Linked DNA regions of Homo sapiens: region 1 is linked to region 2. The links are contacts of gene promoters, found by promoter capture Hi-C in blood cells and fetal thymus (Javierre and others, 2016). All regions are on one chromosome and are shown on one strand. The core of a region is centred on a gene start or on the middle of the fragment in contact, and the rest is flanking DNA. Distances in the headings are between cores, read along the strand shown.

Region 1 (2,700 bases), core at 89-2,588, 410 kb before region 2:
CTGCACATCATACGCTTCAGCTACCATCTATTTCTGCAGTCTCTTTTACAGCTAAAATTTTCAGCAAAAGTTCTTACTTTCACTGTCTCTTCCCCTCAAATATCATTTCCCTTTTTCATCCCACTCCAATCTGGTTTCCCTCCTCCCCACCCTCCCAAAACTCCCTCTGTCAAGGTCACCAGTAAGTTCCATGTTGCTAAATCTAACAGACACTCTGCATTTAAGTTGCTCAGCCTGTCAATAGCATTTGGCACAGTTGGCCATTGCTTGCTCGATACACTACCCCTTCTCAAATTCCAAGATACCACATTCTTCCTCTATACAACCTCTAAACACTGAAATATTCCAAGGTTGAGTCTTAAGCTTTCTTTCACTTCTCCATCGACATTCTCTCCTTAGCTGAGTTCATCCACTCCCGTAGCTTTAAATACCACCTATTGCTAATGTCTCCAAAATTTTCATCTCTAACCCTGACCTCTCCTCTGAGGTCCAGACCCATATATCCAACTGCCTACTAGGTACCTTACACTTGGATGTCTAATAGACATTTTATTATTTATTTATTTTATTTATTATTATTATTTTTGAGATGGAGTCTCGCTCTGTCGCCCAGGCTGCAGTGCAGTGGTGCGATCTCGGCTAACTGCAACCTCCGCCTCCCGGGTTCAAGCGATTCTCCTGCCTCAGCCTCCCGAGTAGCTGGGATTATAGACTTGAACCACCACGCCGGGCTAATTTTTGTATTTTAGTAGAGACGGGGTTTCACCATGTTGGCCACGCTCAGGTGATCCACCCGCCTCCGCCTCCCAAAGTGCTGGGATTACAGCGGTCAGCCACCGCCCCCCGCAGTTCTGTCACCTGCGGCAGGGTCCCCTGTTAACCTTGTTTCTCCTTCCCTACTTCACACTCCCCTCTTCTCTCTCAATTCCTCGGGCTCTGCCCCACACCCTCCCGTTACTTCAGTTCCTCCACCTCCACCTCCCTCTAACCTTCTGCCTCAAGTTATCCCCCCGCCCCCCAGCCTCAGGTACCGCTTCTCTGTGGTTCCCTCGCCTCTATCTCAGGTTCCCCGCCTTCCACTTCAGTTTTCTTTCCACAGCTTCTGACCCTACGTTCCCAGTCCACACCCTCCCGGCCAGACCCTACCCGGCTGCTCCAGCGTCAGCGCCCCCAGGCGGCGAATGCCTTCCTCGTCCAGCTCCCATTGCTCCGCCATCCCCGCCCGCCGCTCACCTGCCACCGCCCGCGAGACCACCCGGCGCACGCCAGGCCCCGCCCACTGCCCCGCCCCCCGCGCGCGCGCCGCCGCGACCCCGGGAACCGTTATTGGCCGGGTCACAAGCCCGCCCGCCCGCTGCTGGAGCCGCGACCATGGTACGGAGCCCGCTCTGGCGGGGGCGCCAAAAGCACCAAAGCGGCGAATGGGGGCCGCTGTGGCCAAGGATTGGGGCTAAGTGGTTCGAGACCTGGCTCTGGGGCATGGGAGAGAGCGAGGGGCCCCCAGCCGGGAAGGATTTGGGGGGCTGGCTCTGAGGAGTTAGAATAACGCTCTGTCTTGAGGGATGAAGTGTTCTGGCTCTGAGGATGTGGGGGACTCCGGTTCTGAGGGCTGGGCGTGTGCCCCTTTGACGGGGTGGTCTTCATATCTCAGCGCTGGGGGATGCTGACTTTGGGGCAAGGCGAGGGTGTGTGTGAAGGGGAGATCCAAATCTGAAGGATTGGAGCGTGGGGACAGAACTCTAAGGCATGATGGGGAGCTCCAGATCTGAAAGGTTGGGAATCCTGGCTCTGAGGAGTTGGGGTCCTGTCTTTAGAGCATGAGGAAGTTCTAGCTCTAGAAATTGACTTGGACGGGCTGGGCGCGGTGTCTCACGCCTGTAATCCCAGCACTTTGGGAGCCCGAGGTGGGCGGATCACCTGAGGTCAAGAGTTCAAGACCAGCCTGGCCAACATGGTGAAACCCCATCTCTACTAAAAATACAAAAATTAGCCGGGTGTGGTGGCACGGCCTGTAGTCCCAGCTACTCGGGAGGCTGAGGCAGGAGAATCGCTTGAACCCGGGAGGTGGAGGTTGCAGTGAACCGAGATTGCACCACTGCACTCCAGCCTGGGCGACCTGAGTGACAGAGCCAGACCTTGTCTCAAAAAAAAAAAAAAAAAAAAGGTAAGAAATTTACTTGGACGGAGCTTCTTCGGGGGAGAAGGATCAGCGTGGGAAAGAGAGAAGCTCTTTGTAATGGGGTGGGGATGACTGCTTTAGGGCTACCCCGTTTCCTGAAGTCAGTCCGGCAAGAAGCCTTTTGTCTTTCAAGCACCACAGGTTCCCCTAAGCTTGCCTGTGACTGAGGGCTGTCGCCAGGCTGCGATAGCTCTGCACTAACCAGCCCCTGAGTAGTCTTTGGGAAAGAACAGCCGCATCCCTAACCCCTACCCTCACTCCAGCAGGCACTTAAGAGCCCACCTGTGGATGGGACATGTATGTAAGAAGGAGCCAGGACCCTCTTGTCACACCCTATCCTTAACAAGAAAAGAGGGTGGGCTGGGCGTGGTGGCTCACGTCTGTAATCCCAGCACTTTGGGAGGCCGAAGCATGTGGATCACGAGGTCAGGAGATCGAGACCATCCTGGCTAACACAGTGAAACCCCATCTCTACTAAAAATACAAAAATAAAACAAAATAAAATAAAATAAAATAAAATA
Region 2 (2,700 bases), core at 186-2,685:
TCCCACTGTGGACTGGGGTGTTCAAGGCCCTGGACGCAGGCCCACAGCCCCTCGCCTGCTCTGCCATCCTCTAGCAGGCGTGACTCTGTGCTCTGACCTCTTGAACTTGCCCAGGGCTTCCTCAGAGAGAACAGCTGCCATCTCTTGCTGCCATGGGGATTGTCACCCCGGGCCAGGAATGTCTCAGGCCTCTTCTAGGAATGCCCTGGGGTCAGGCCCAGGCTGAGAGGGCAGAAAATAAAGTAACATGGTCACTCAAGCACTTTGGGCAGGGTCCAGGCTTGGATCAGGGCAAGGCCACTAACAACATGTGCCCTGAACAGAAGGATCCCACCTGGACTCCAGGCCCAGGGAGGGCAGCACCTTGCCTGGGTCACACAGTTGGGCTCAGGCTCCTCAACGAGAAATCAGATGGGGCGCAAAGGCTGACATGGATTGTTCCTGCCCCTTGGCCCGGGGTGTCCCCCCCAGGTACACTGGAGTGGGGGTGATGTGCACTATCACCTGGAGAGCCATCCCCCGGGACCCTTTGAAGTGAATGCAGAGGGAAACCTCTACGTGACCAGAGAGCTGGACAGAGAAGCCCAGGCTGAGGTGATATGAAGGGGGAGCCAGGGATGCAGGCTGGGGGTGCTTGGTCAGTGTCCAGTTGGCTTTTGGGGGTGTCACAACTACAACAGAGGCTGAGGCAGTGGGAAAGAGCCCCGAAGAGCTGGAGCTGGCCCACCGGAAGGAAACTCAGAGCCAGGCAAGGCTGGAGCTGCCCTTGGTCCTGACCTGAAGCCCCCTACTGCCCACCGCAGTACCTGCTCCAGGTGCGGGCTCAGAATTCCCATGGCGAGGACTATGCGGCCCCTCTGGAGCTGCACGTGCTGGTGATGGATGAGAATGACAACGTGCCTATCTGCCCTCCCCGTGACCCCACAGTCAGCATCCCTGAGCTCAGTCCACCAGGTGAGCTACAGGATGGGAGAGGGACGAAGTCTCTATTAACCACCTGGTCTTGCTCTTCTCTGGGATAAGGACCCAGCCTCAGGCCCCCATGTCAATGTCCCTCCATAACACACACACACACACACACACACACACACACGAGCTCAAATTCAGTTTAGTTTGGCACAAAATAAGGAGTGGGTGGGGTAAGGTCTCCAGGCTGGGCTGTGGTCCTATCCAGGCGGGTGCTGTCTTGGCAGGTACTGAAGTGACTAGACTGTCAGCAGAGGATGCAGATGCCCCCGGCTCCCCCAATTCCCACGTTGTGTATCAGCTCCTGAGCCCTGAGCCTGAGGATGGGGTAGAGGGGAGAGCCTTCCAGGTGGACCCCACTTCAGGCAGTGTGACGCTGGGGGTGCTCCCACTCCGAGCAGGCCAGAACATCCTGCTTCTGGTGCTGGCCATGGACCTGGCAGGCGCAGAGGGTGGTAAGTGCCCTGATTGGTGACCCAGGCCCCCTGTCCCCTCTGTTCCTACCCTGACCTCACCAACACGTCCACCTCTGCCCTAGGCTTCAGCAGCACGTGTGAAGTCGAAGTCGCAGTCACAGATATCAATGATCACGCCCCTGAGTTCATCACTTCCCAGGTAAGCAGACGCAGGGGAGAAGGCCTTGGGAAGGATGCTGGTGGGGGGCTCACCATCCCTCCTCCTCCTCCAGATTGGGCCTATAAGCCTCCCTGAGGATGTGGAGCCCGGGACTCTGGTGGCCATGCTAACAGCCATTGATGCTGACCTCGAGCCCGCCTTCCGCCTCATGGATTTTGCCATTGAGAGGGGAGACACAGAAGGGACTTTTGGCCTGGATTGGGAGCCAGACTCTGGGCATGTTAGACTCAGACTCTGCAAGGTGAGGGCCTGGGTAGCTGGGAAAGGGGCCCACACATGCACGCATGCATGCACATGTGCCTTGCCCAGGCCCGCACAGTGACCTGGGCCTCCTGGTTCCAGAACCTCAGTTATGAGGCAGCTCCAAGTCATGAGGTGGTGGTGGTGGTGCAGAGTGTGGCGAAGCTGGTGGGGCCAGGCCCAGGCCCTGGAGCCACCGCCACGGTGACTGTGCTAGTGGAGAGAGTGATGCCACCCCCCAAGTTGGACCAGGAGAGCTACGAGGCCAGTGTCCCCATCAGTGCCCCAGCCGGCTCTTTCCTGCTGACCATCCAGCCCTCCGACCCCATCAGCCGAACCCTCAGGTGAGCTAAAATCCCAGCCCCTTACCTGGACTGGATTGCCCCTGCTCCCTGGGGATGACCCCAGGGCCTCAGAGGGGACTCACATTATCTGTGGCCTGCAAAATTTCTCAAACTATGGCAAATGCCAAGGTTGTGACTCCTGGCAGGGATCGGGGCTGGATGGACTGGGTGGGGCATGGAGAGGGGTGTTTTGGACCCCATGAGAGCTCAGATTATGCCTCAGCACCTGGAGGGAGGACCAGGCCCTCCTCCAATGCCCCCCAACAGATTGCAGACAGACAAGGTTGTTCATAGACTCTGATTCCCTTGCAGGGTGACCTGGAGTGAGCAAAGTTGAAATGGGCCTCCCAGGCTCTAAGAGTTTCTCCCTTACCCACATGATCTGTTCTTCATCCCACACCCACCACCACCACCACAACAAATCCTGAAGCTGGAGAGAGAGACTGGGCCCCCCAGGCTTTGCTGTGGCCCCTGAGTCACAGAGAGGGTGTGGAATTTAAGCAAGTCACACAGC

The links. Contacts are between HindIII fragments. The CHiCAGO score rates a contact against its expected background, and 5 or more counts as called.
Region 1: a contact is called between the fragment with the promoter of KCTD19 here and a fragment that was not itself captured in region 2, in 1 of 17 cell types (M1 macrophages). The highest score is 5.0, in M1 macrophages.

What each region holds. Positions count from the first base shown.
Region 1 is chr16:67,325,379-67,328,078 of GRCh38, reverse strand. KCTD19 (potassium channel tetramerization domain containing 19) reads left to right here and starts at 1,338. Exons shown (of 16, transcript NM_001100915.3): 1 at 1,338-1,374. The coding sequence starts at 1,372. LRRC36 (leucine rich repeat containing 36) reads right to left here and starts at 1,264. Exons shown (of 14, transcript NM_018296.6): 1 at 1,147-1,264. The coding sequence starts at 1,216. RefSeq lists a silencer at 1,222-1,371. The HindIII fragment of the contact is 1,968 bases long and covers 366-2,333 here.
Region 2 is chr16:66,911,385-66,914,084 of GRCh38, reverse strand. It overlaps CDH16 (cadherin 16), which reads left to right. Exons shown (of 18, transcript NM_004062.4): 8 at 472-594; 9 at 804-954; 10 at 1,194-1,421; 11 at 1,505-1,581; 12 at 1,655-1,843; 13 at 1,945-2,186. Among named protein-coding and RNA genes, the nearest start is that of CDH16, 6.2 kb to the left of the region's middle. RefSeq lists an enhancer at 1,638-2,139. The HindIII fragment of the contact is 7,999 bases long and covers 1-2,700 here.